2 separate regions of the Homo sapiens genome follow, and region 2 is linked to region 1. Evidence: promoter capture Hi-C in human tissues and cell types (Jung and others, 2019). All regions are on one chromosome and are shown on one strand. Each heading gives the region's core, a stretch centred on a gene start or on the middle of the fragment in contact. The rest is flanking DNA. Distances are from core to core; before and after follow the strand shown.

The links. The method cuts DNA at HindIII sites, captures the fragments that hold promoters and counts their contacts. A contact is called where the count stands out against the background at its distance.
Region 2: a contact is called between a fragment that was not itself captured here and the fragment with the promoter of CSF2RB in region 1, in 1 of the 25 tissues and cell types used here (bladder).

Annotation. Positions count from the first base shown.
Region 1 is chr22:36,910,786-36,916,493 of GRCh38, forward strand. It overlaps CSF2RB (colony stimulating factor 2 receptor subunit beta), which reads left to right and starts at 2,843. Exons shown (of 14, transcript NM_000395.3): 1 at 2,843-2,892. RefSeq lists an enhancer at 676-1,377. The HindIII fragment of the contact is 4,511 bases long and covers 545-5,055 here.
Region 2 is chr22:36,769,135-36,774,758 of GRCh38, forward strand. All of the region lies in intron 1 of IFT27 (intraflagellar transport 27), which reads right to left. Among named protein-coding and RNA genes, the nearest start is that of IFT27, 4.2 kb to the right of the region's middle. The HindIII fragment of the contact is 5,942 bases long and covers 1-4,352 here.

The DNA of each region.
Region 1 (5,708 bases), core at 1,593-4,092:
ACTTTATTGGTGCACAGAAATACTACTGATTTGTGCACATTGATTTTGTTTCCAACTTTATAGAAGTTGTTCATCAGTTCCCGGGGACTTTTGGTGGAGTCTTTAGGGTTTTCTAGGTATAAAATCATATCATCAAGGAAGAGAGAAAGTTTGACTTCTTCTTTTCCTATTTGGATGTCTTTTATTTCTTTCTCTTGTTAGATTGCTCTGGCTAGGACTTCTGAATGACAGAATTTTTAAAAGTCACCATTTGGCAATGATCATCATGATAATGTTTAATTAAATTAAGGAACATCATTGCATACTGAAATTATACAAGTGTGGGAGTGGGATGAGAAAGCTTAAAAGTATCTCCCTACCAAATGCTTATAAATTACGATGTGGAAGGGGAAGTAACTTTACAATAGAGAAACTTGATTGGTGTCAAGTTAATCAAATGATCAGAGCGAACGACATTAGTGATGGGACAGATTGACAATGAAAGCTAATAGGACTCACCAAGAATAATCCAGCATCACTTCTGTGCTATTTTGGCCAAAAAAGCATAACCCAGTTCTAATCATCAGACAGAGCCAAATCGAGGGACATTATTCAAAACAACCAACCTGCAGTCTTCGAGATGTCGAGGAAAAAACAAGGCATCTGTTTCAAACTGGAGGCCCGAAAGACATGGCAACTAAGAGCCATGCATTTAGAGAGAATGCAAAGTCCCGGATGGATTTTCTTGTTACAAAACCATTATTGAGAAGCTTAGCGAAACTCAAAGGGGGTTTCCACATGAAGGGTATGTGAGAGTTCTTTGTATCATTCCTTTAACGCTCTGTATTTTGAAATAGTTTCAGAATAAAAATGGAAATGGAAAAAAATGCAATGTTAACATATACGAGTTACTACTTTCAACAAGTTATCTTCCTTTTCATGCCTCAATTTCTTCATCTGTAAGGTGAAGACAGTAACAGCTACATAAAGGTTATTGGGAAGAGATGGAGAAGCCCCCAGCCGAAGGTCTGCTCACAGCGTAAATGCTCAAGCCCTGGTCATTATGAGTACTACGTTCTTGCCAACATTTTCTTGGGTTTCTTAGTCTCTAAAAGATCGTCAATTGCAAGACACGGTATTTTACATACCACTGAAGGAAAAAACAAACAAACAAACGAAAACATTCAATGAATTCCTGACGGTGTGATTCTTCTCGCTTAGAACTTTTAATACTTATTGAGAGAACTCTGTTAGACTCATTCAAATGTAGATTTTTATCCCCTGCTGCTCTATGATGACTTTTAAAAGGAAAGGGTCAGTCAAGTGAATTGGCTGAGGTGTTCCTAAAGCTCCTTCACATTTTGGGTCTGGTGTCCGGAGTGATTTTGACTCAGAGTCTCGGGTTCTTCGTTTCTCCACCAGACAGCATCCTCTGTGCTCCTGAGGGCATCCAGGCCCGCAGCCTCCCAGTCCCACAGAGGACCTCAGCAAAGACAGGCAGAGTGGGGACACCTGGGAGAAAAGAGAGCCCGGGACGTCACTTTAATTCCATCCTCTCCAGCCCTGGAGAAGCCCCTGCAGGGTTTTTCCATGCCAGGCAGGGACCTCACACTGACCGGAGTGCCTGAGAGAACCACACATGCCTTCCTCTACCCTGGGCTTTCTCTGCTAGGGTGAGGCCCTGCCAGCTCTTCCTGGCCAACCCTGCCCTTCCTGGTAGGAGGAAAGCAAAGAACAACAATCAGGCCAGAATTCCAGTGGCTTCGAGGCAGGTTCCTGCCCCTCCATTTCCTCCATTCCCCTCATTCTTGCCCTCCATTCCCCTCATTCCTGCCTGCTGCCCTTTCTCCTGGGAGGCAGCCCCATGTAGGAGAAATATGACTGCGTTTTGTTGTGTCTTGGCACTGTGATTCATCTTGTCTTTATTCAAACTTTTCATATTTGGTTCACCGTGAATAGTTTCTGCATCAGTTGGGATTTTTTTAAACCATATTGCATTAAAATATTACTTACAACAATTACTGAATTTTTAAATGCCTGTTTAAATTTTGAGCACGAGAGACTGCCTCACTCACCTGACCTTAATTCTGCTGGCCCTGCTGTGCTCAGGGAGCCACTCATTCATTCATTCATTCATTCATTCATTCATTCATTCATCTATTCATTTGCACACAGTCAAAGGTGCAATTTCTCCTCTGTACCAGGCCATGTGCTAGGTATTTGGGAGGGAAGTGCAAGCCGGACACAAGCCAGCACTGAAGATAGTGTCAGAAGAAAGACAGCCATGAACACACATGACCATATGACACATGGTGGGGTGGGGCGGCAGGGCAAAGAGGACATCGGGGAAATCAACATGCCACCAGCTACCACTTGTAGGGGGTTCTCCTGTGGCCAGCTCTGAGCTAAGGTCTTCCTGCACAGAATCTCACTGGATTCCCTCAACAGTCCTTCCAGGTTTGTAGATGCTTCTGCAAAAGTAACAGACAGATGGATGTCCCGAGGCTTGGGGAAGTAACACGCAGATGATTTGCACAAGGACACGCTTTAAGAAGCAGTGGACTTGGAAGTCCAACACAGATCTGTCTGGCTCTGGGCTCAAACCAGCTATGGTTATTGCAGCCACTTCCACCTGCATCCCCATCAAGCAGTCAGGGAAGGCTGCATGGAGGAGGCCCTGCGTCAGCTGAGGCTTGAAGGAGGCCTAGGAGTTTATAGGAAGGTAAATTGGAGTAGGAGGCTTTCTGGAAGTAAGAAAAGTCACGTGCACTATTAGCAAAGTAGGCCTGGGCCGGCACTGCTTCCTCTTTCTGCTTCTCTGTTTCCTGATGACATCAACATAAATAGGAAACGTGGGAGGCTCACTCTGCCTAGAGGCTCCAGAAGAAGACTGGTCTCTCCCACCACACAGAGGTATGGCCCGGCGTCCAGGAGCAGGGCTGAGGGGTGGGGTCAGAGCAGGGGGGAATGTGGGGAGTCCAGGATGAAAAAGGACAGGGGGAGCCTGGGGGGCGTCCTGTGGGTAGCTGTGCCCTGGGGACTTGGAGGAGTTAGGGCTTGGCCTCTTAGGATGACCTGAGCCCAGACTCCTAGGGCGGCCAGTGGATGGGGAGGCAGCCAGGGGTGCCAAGCTGCTTGGGTGTTGTAGGAGAGCTCTGGGGAGGACTCAGCCTCGCTAGCGGGATCTGGTTGGTCCTGGTGGGAAGGACGCCTAGTGGGGTGAAGAGAGCTCAGGCCTGGGAGTCAGGCACCTATAGTCTGTCTTCGCTTTGTCACTAAGATGCTGGTGGTAGTGAGAGCACCCCCTGTCCACCCTGGGCTTCTGTCTCCTCATCTGTGGAATGGGGAGCATGGATAGTCCCTGACATCTTGGTTTAGAAAGAGAGAGAACGCATGCTCGTGTGTTTGCCCGTGTGTGCATTTGTGTGTGTGCCTGTGTGTGTATGTGCATGTGCGGATGTCTGGGGATGCAGGAGTGCAGAGAGACTAAGAGGCAGAGGGTGAAACCTGGAAGCTTGCTGCGCTGAGGCCCAGAGCTGGGTGCGGTGTGGCTTGAGAAGCTCACTTTGAACTTGAGAAAGAGCCCAGCACTTTGCCCAGAGACATACCAGGCACTATCCAGCAATCTCTCTCTCTCTCTCTCTCTCTCTCAGTCTCTCTCTCTGTCTGTCTGTCTTTTTAGTTATGACACTCTGCCCTGCTGATTTGGGTTGCTGATTTGGGTTGGGGCCCAGGTGTGTGTGTTCTGTACCCAAGTATGCTGGCTGGGTGGGTGGGTATCTGGGGTGCCTGCTTCAGGGTGTGTGCAGGTGTGTGTACTGGCCCTGAGAATGAAAGGGCAGGTGTTTCACTGGGACCTTGTCAGACAGGTGCTAGCGACAAGCTGCATATGTGCAATTTTTAGTCTTCAAAAACCCTGCTGTTATATTTTTGTACAGCCCAATTCTAATTTTTTTCTATCATCTTTCCTGCTTTGTAATCATTTTATAATGAGTAAACATTTCCTATTAGCTTTTGGTCACTCTTTTTTTCATCCAGCAGTTTTATTTATATTGTTCCAGTATACAGATATACCAACACCACAGGATAATTCATGAGTTGTATAAGGAATGTATTTAATGCTAAACAAGCAACTACACAGAAACCTACCTTCATGAAAATTAGAATAATCTAGAATTATGTAGCACAAGAGACAAAGTCCCCAGCAATTTCTTTTCCCTAGTTCCATAGCTTATTCTTTTCACCACATGTATTCTTCCAGAACATTTTCTAAGCATGATACAAGCATATAGTTTTTCTTTTCCTGTTTGTTTTTTGTTTTGTTTTGTTTTGTTTTTGTGACAGAGTTTTACTCTTGTCGCCCAGGCTGGAATGCAGTGGTGCAATCTTGGCTCACTGCAACCTCTGCCTCCCGGGTTCAGGTGATTCTCCTGCCTCAGCCTCCTGAGTAGCCGGGATTACAGGCATGAGCCACCACACGTGGCTAATTTTTGTATTTTTAGTAGAGACAGGGTTTCACCATATTGGCCAGGCTGGTCTCGAACTCCTGACCTCAGATGATCCGCCTGTCTCAGCCTCCCAAAATGCTGGGATTACAGGCTTGAGCCACTGTGCCAGGATGGTAGTTTTTCTTTTTACAGAAATGGGATTATTTTATTTATATATATATATATATATTCCTAATTTTTTCACTTAATATTGTATTTTGGAATATTTCCAAATTTCTACAATAATACATACAGATTTAACTCGTTAAGTAACCCTAAGAAATATGTGGCATTTATTAGGATGGGTACACCACAATTCATCTAATCTCACGTTGATCGACACCTAGATTGTTTCTAATTTTTCCACATCTGTGAAAGTGTTTCTGTAGCCTAAATTACTAAATGCAGAATTGCTGTGCAGAGGTTGTGCGTTAGAAATTATAATAGGTATTGTCAAATCAGCCTCAAAGTAGCTGAGCTAAGCTGACGTCCCCAAGGTAGTGCATAAAGGGTCCAATTTACCTTTAGAGAAATTATCAATCTTCTAATTTTGTCCAATATTATGTATGGAAATTCTCAATGTCGCGTGATTTTTTTCTTTCCCTGATTATGGGTGAAGTTGTACATTTTCTATATGTGGATTGGCCTTTTGGATTTCATTTATGATGAATGTGGAGAAATTTTTGTTCATCTCCTGTTGAATTCTCTTTTACATCTTAACTTTTGGAGTGACTCATTTATTACGTGTATTAATAATCCATTTATATATGTTGAAAATATATTCTCCCAGGTTATGACTTATCTTTTTCTTTACCATGTTTAAGATGTCTTATGTCATATAAAAATGTTTTCATTGTTAAGTCAAACCTGTCATTACTTTTTACTTTATGGTTTCTGATTTTGGTGTCTTGTAAACCTCTAAGATCACAGGTGTCTTGTAAACCTCTTTTTACTTTATGGTTTCTGGTTTGGTGTCTTGAAACCTCTAAGATTACAGAAAGAGTTTTAATAATTTTACTATTTTGGTTTTGACTTTGAGATTTTTAGCCCACCTAGAATTTAGAGAAGTGAGTAATGTGTAAAGTAACTTTTAAAAATAATTACCATCTAATTGTCTTAACATTGCTAATTATGAGTGTGTGATTTCTCCTCTCTTCAATGATTTGAAGTGCCCCTATTACATCCTAGGCTTCTATACATACTTCGTTATTTTCTTTATTGTTTTCTCTTCCATTTGGCTGT
Region 2 (5,624 bases), core at 132-2,631, 140 kb before region 1:
CTTTTCTATTTGTCATCACTCCTTAGAAGGGAACCAATATGTGCTGAGCCCCCCTCATGGACCTGTTCACACAATCCCATTCATTCCTTCCCCGCCAAGGTATCATTCACCTTACCTGACAGATGAAGAGACTGAGGCTCAGAGAGGCTGGGTAACTCGCCCAGGATTCCAACCTCACGCTCTTCCCAGGCCCTGCTCCTCTCCTAGAGCTCAGGGACCACTTCTGACACTTTTCTTGTTTTGAGATGGAGTCTCTGTCACGCAGGCTGAAGTACAGTGGTGCGATCTAGGCTCGCTGCAACCTCCGCCTCCCGGGTTCAAGTGATTCTCCTGCCTTAGCCTCCCGAGTAGCTGGGACTACAGGTGCACGCCACCATGACCAGCTAATGTTTGTATTTTTAGTAGAGACGGGGTTTCACCAGGTTGGCCAGCCTGATCACAAACTCTTGACCTCAGGTGATCTGCCTGCCTCTGCCTGCCAAAGTGCTGGGATTACAGAAGTGAGTTCTGACCCATTTTTAATGCTGTCCCTCCAAGCCCTCCTCACCGCCTTCCATGACATCTGGGGCAACCACAGCCTAGACTGTCAAGGGGTACCCACCCATCTCGGAGCAAACAGAGCGCATCGCTTTCCTTCCTTGGGCCCTGACTGCACCCGCCCTCCCAACTTCAGCTCTGCTCCTGAATTCAGCTGGAAGTTGGCTCCTCCTGCTTATGAGATTCCTCACAGATTTGTTCTGGTTAATTTCATAAATCTTTCCTCTGACTGTCAGTCAGAGTCACCAACACTTACAGGAAACCGCCTGTGTTGGCTATGAGGGCTCAGAAGCACAGGGAGGTGAAATAACTGATAAACACATTTGCAGAGCAACAGGATGACAAGTGCAAATTCAAATAGCACAAACTGAGAAGCAAGGCGTCTGGGAAGCATCGAGAAAAGAAATGAATGAGAGGATTCACTGGGGAGGGAGGCTTCCCTAGGGGCAAGGGCTGGGCCTGGGGGCGACAGCAGGCAGGGCGCTGCAGGACAGAGAGGATGACGTCTGCAAGGGCACGATGCGAGATCACCTGTGACCTCACAGTTGCCAAGGCCGATGGCCTTTTCTTGGTTCTCATCCTCCTTGACTTCTCTGAAGGATGTGAGTCAGCCTGAAGTGACCCCTTCCTTCCCGAGTCCTGTCCCCGTGGCCTCAGTGACCCTGCCCTGGCCTGGTTCTCCTGCTATCTGCCTGCCCCTCTGCCCCCCGAGTGTGGGCATTCCCATGGGCCTGTCATCGGCGGCGCTCTGCTCCTAGTCCACTCCGTCCCACTGACTCTCATCACCTTGACAGAAGGCAGGATCTCCCTCCCAAGCTTTGTCTGTATATCCAAAAACCCGTGTGCGTTGCCACTAGAATGAAGGACCTTCCTCCAACCTCAGTCTGTCTACAGCCAAGCTCCGTCATGCCCTGGTCCTGAGTGGGCTGCCCCCATCACCCAAGCTTTCTGTTTGTGACGCCACCGTGTGTTTTCATCGTCCCCAGATTCAACGGGTCACCTCTGACTGCTCCTCCTCCTTCCTCCCATCTTCAGGCAGCCTCCCTTGCATTCCTCACATCCTTGGCTGAGTCTCAGCCCACCTCTGCTCGGCCCTCCCTGCTGACCCTGCCCCAGTTAGCTCAGCCTCACTGCTGGGTTTCTATCTCAGCCCCAAGCCCATCCTTCCACAGTGTGCAGGGGAGGGGCCTCTGCAGACACATTTCTCCCTTGCTAGGAGCTTCCTGTTAGGCTCTGCCAATGGGAGTTCTGGAAGAAGAAGGGAAGGCTGGAGTCGGGGGAGAGGACACTGCTCTTCCCGCCTGCTTCTCCTTTTTCTTAGTACTACCCTAGCAATGGCCTGCACCCCAGCAGCACTAACTGCTTCCTGTCTTGGGGTGTGTGTGTGTGTGTGTGTTTCCCTACTCCCAGACCAGCTTATTGTTGCCCCCAGAGGAAACAGCGCCAGCGGGCAGTGCCCTCTTCTCAGAGATCCACACCTTGGCTCCCAGGGCCCCTCCTCCCTGCTTCTGGGCTGAGAGCCCCACATGCTTCCCTCTGCTTCCCCAGCCCAAGAGGTGGTGCTCCTTCCTGCAGTTACTACCCGTGCTGCCTCAGTTTCCCCCTTTTCCTCTTCCAGTCCTCTAGCACCAGTGTCATTCACATCCTACTGAAATCCTCACTGTTGAAATGCCGAGTAGAGTTGCTGGTTTTTGCCTGGCCCCTGACTTATGTAGTCCTTGGTACCAGGAGTGGTCTTAAAACATGGACCCTCCAGGATGGTTTGGAACTGGTTTGGTGTGTCTTGCCCTGAACACAGGGCTGGGCTCCTCCCAGTGGGAAATGGGTCCTGGTGCTCTGTGGCATGTGCTGGGGTCACGCGGCAGGTGACTGAACTCCTGAGGTGCCGGGACCAGCCGGGCAGGGCCCCTTCCTCAGGGGTCCGGATCCCAGCTCCCTGGGTCTCTTCAAGCTTCTGACAACCCCGACCTCTGCCCGCCAATCTGTGTCAACTCAATGCTGCCTTCTTGCTTCCTCAGTTCTCCAACACTTGATGAAGCAATTCCATACATTAAAATTTCTCTGCTGAAATGACGACTGCGTTTTCTGTCTTCCCGACTGTGCCTTGAACACTTCTTTTCTCTTCTTTTTTCTCCCGGCTGTTATCCACCCAGTGGGTGGCATCAACAGGTGGACCCCCATGACACAGTGCCTCCATCTTGGCAAACCTTCACACAAACCCCACTGAGGATTCCTTCATAGCCTACCCATCTCCACGGTCAGCCCTAACCCACCTTCCCACTCTCTCCCTAGTAATCCCTTACCCCAAATCTGGGCTCTGCATTCCTGTTCGCCCAGTCCCTGGAAATTCCTCAAGGCCACCTCCTTCCAGGTACCCCTAGACCAAATTCAAATCCTGTCCATTCTCTGCAAGGAAAGCTCAAAGAATACCCTTCCTGCACAGCCTCTGAAGGCCATCTCTCCCTCCTTCATCTTTATCTGTGTGGCTAACGTGGATCGTTGCTCAGTGGTAGCGCACGATGTGATGTCAGAGCAACCCTCCCAGGAGGCTCTATTACCATCTCCATGTATATCAAGAGGCAGCATATTATGGTACTTAAGGGCACAGACTCTGGAGCCAGACTCCAGCTCCATCACTTTCTAGCTGTGTGAGTTTAAATCAGTTACTTAACCTCTCTGTGCCTCAGCTGCAACATGTATAACCTAAGATAATCATAGCACCTACCCCACAGAATTGTTATGAGGATTTAATGAGTTAATATGCACAGTGCCTGGCATATATAAGTACTATTTAAGTGTTTTTTTAAAAGTAAACAAAATACAGATCAATGTCAAATGTTGTTTTCTTTCTTCTCCAGAACCAGAACAAGTAGCAGCTGTGCCTGGAGGCATTTCCCCGCATCTGGCACACAAAGGGCATTCACTTTGTGTTCGCTGTGTTAGAACGTATCACACGCATCTTAGTTCTTCCTTGAGTGCAACTGACTCATGCTTGCAGGCCCACTGCACCTTGCACGGTGACTCTGACGTAGTAGGTGCTCAGCGAGTATCTGTTCAATGCATAAACACTTGAACTGAACGTCAGGTCCTTCAATGACCAGTTATGTGAGAGAAAAAACAGAGTAACTCAGTTTAAACAGTAGGGCTGTGGGTCATGGATGGAAAAATAAAACCAATGGCATGTGTGTGGTGGGGGTGGGTGGACAGGTGTCAGAGGGGGCTGATTTCTGGGCTGAGGTCTTTTGGTCCCTGGAAACTTCCAAGAGGAAATGCTGTGGAATCCCTGAAAAGAGGCTGCAGATTGAGGCGCAGGCTGGAGTTCAGGAGCCACTAACTAGGCAGTGGCTGCACTCAGGTGAAAGAACTACCCAAGGGAGTTGGGGGTAAAGAAGGGCACAAAGAGGCCGGGCATAGTGGGTGGCTCACGCCTGTAATCCCAGCACTTTGGGAGGCTGAGGCAGGTGGATCACTTGAGGTCTGGAGTTCAAGACCAGCCTGACCAACTGGTGAAACCCCATCTCTACTAAAAATACAAAAATTAACTGGGCATGGTGGTGTGTGCCTGTATCCCCGGCTGCTCGGGAGGCTGAGGCAGGGAATCATTTAAACCCAGGAGGTGGAAGTTGCAGTGAGCTAAGGTTGTGCACCACTGCACTCCAGCCTGGGAGACAGAGTGAAATTACGCCTCAAAAAAAAAGGTCCGGGCACAGTGACTCACGCCTGTAATCCCAGCACTTTGGGAGGCCGAGGCGGGCAGATCACCTGACGTCAGGAGTTCAAGACCAGCCTGGCTAACATGGTGAAACCCAGTCTCCACTAAAAAATACAAAAAATTAGCTGGGTATGGTGGTGGGCGCCTGTAATCCCAGCTACTTGGGAGGCTGAGGCAGAAGAATCGCTTGAACCCAGGAGGTGGAGGTTGCAGTGAGCTGAGATTGTGCCATTGCACTCCAGCTTAGGCAATGAGAGTGAAACTCCGTCTCAAAAAAAAAAAAAAAAAAAATAGAAGGACACAGAGGAGCACTACTTGAGGACAGAGTAGCTTGGGCTAAAGCCCTGGAAATCAGATTGGGACCCAGGGTCTGGATCATACAGCTCTGCCACTTCCAGCTCTGTGACCCATGGCAAATGTTCTCATTTTTCTGGGCCTCAGTTGCCTCATCTGTAAATGAGGATGGCAATAATGCCAATCCCACAGGGTTGCTATGAGGATTCAATGAGACCACCTGTATTGAGGGTCTAGCAGAGCTGATGCACCCAAAGCGCCAGTAAGTTAGCTCCATGATGAAAACCGAATTTAAAAAGAACCCAGAGAGAAGCCCATTTAAAAAAAAAAGTAACTTCAGAAAATAATGTTCCCACCTTATCCATAAGGAAATTAAAGCTCAAAAAGTGCTTCGTCCAAGATGACACAGCCAATAAGAGGAACAGGCAAAATTACTTTTGTTACACAACACTGCCTCCTCTGGTGCTCTGGAAACTGGAGATTCTCCTGAGAACCATTAATTTATTTTGCTCCAGTATGATTCAGTTACTACTGTCAGTCATCTTTCTGTGTGACCCTTTTATTTTCAAATTATAAAAGCCATTAAAAATATTATCATTTATTCTCAGTCTGGAAGAGGGGAATTTTTTAAAACAGGAATCTCTTTTTCTCTATATAATTTCTCACCACTTCTTTCCTGAGCTGGCCAGGGAAGCCTGGAAAGGTCACAGGTTTCAACAGAAACACGAGTTAAGAGTTTTGGAGTTGGCCAGATCTAGGGGCTGAAATCCTGCATAGGGCCTTCACTAGGGGTTGACCTTGGCTGACATCTCTCAGTGCCTCAGTAAGATCAGAACAATCCAGTACCTGGCCGGGCGCAGTGGCTCATGCCTGTAATCCCAGCACTTTGGGAGGCCGAGGTGGGTGGATCACCTGAAGTCAGGAGTTCGAGACCAGTCTGGCCAACATGGTGAAACCCCAGCTCTATTAAAAATACAAAAAAAAATTAGCCGGGCATGGTGGCTTGCGCCTGTAATCCCAGCTACTTGGGAGGCTGAGGCAGGGGAATTGCTTGAACCAGGGAGGTGGAGGTTGCAGTGAG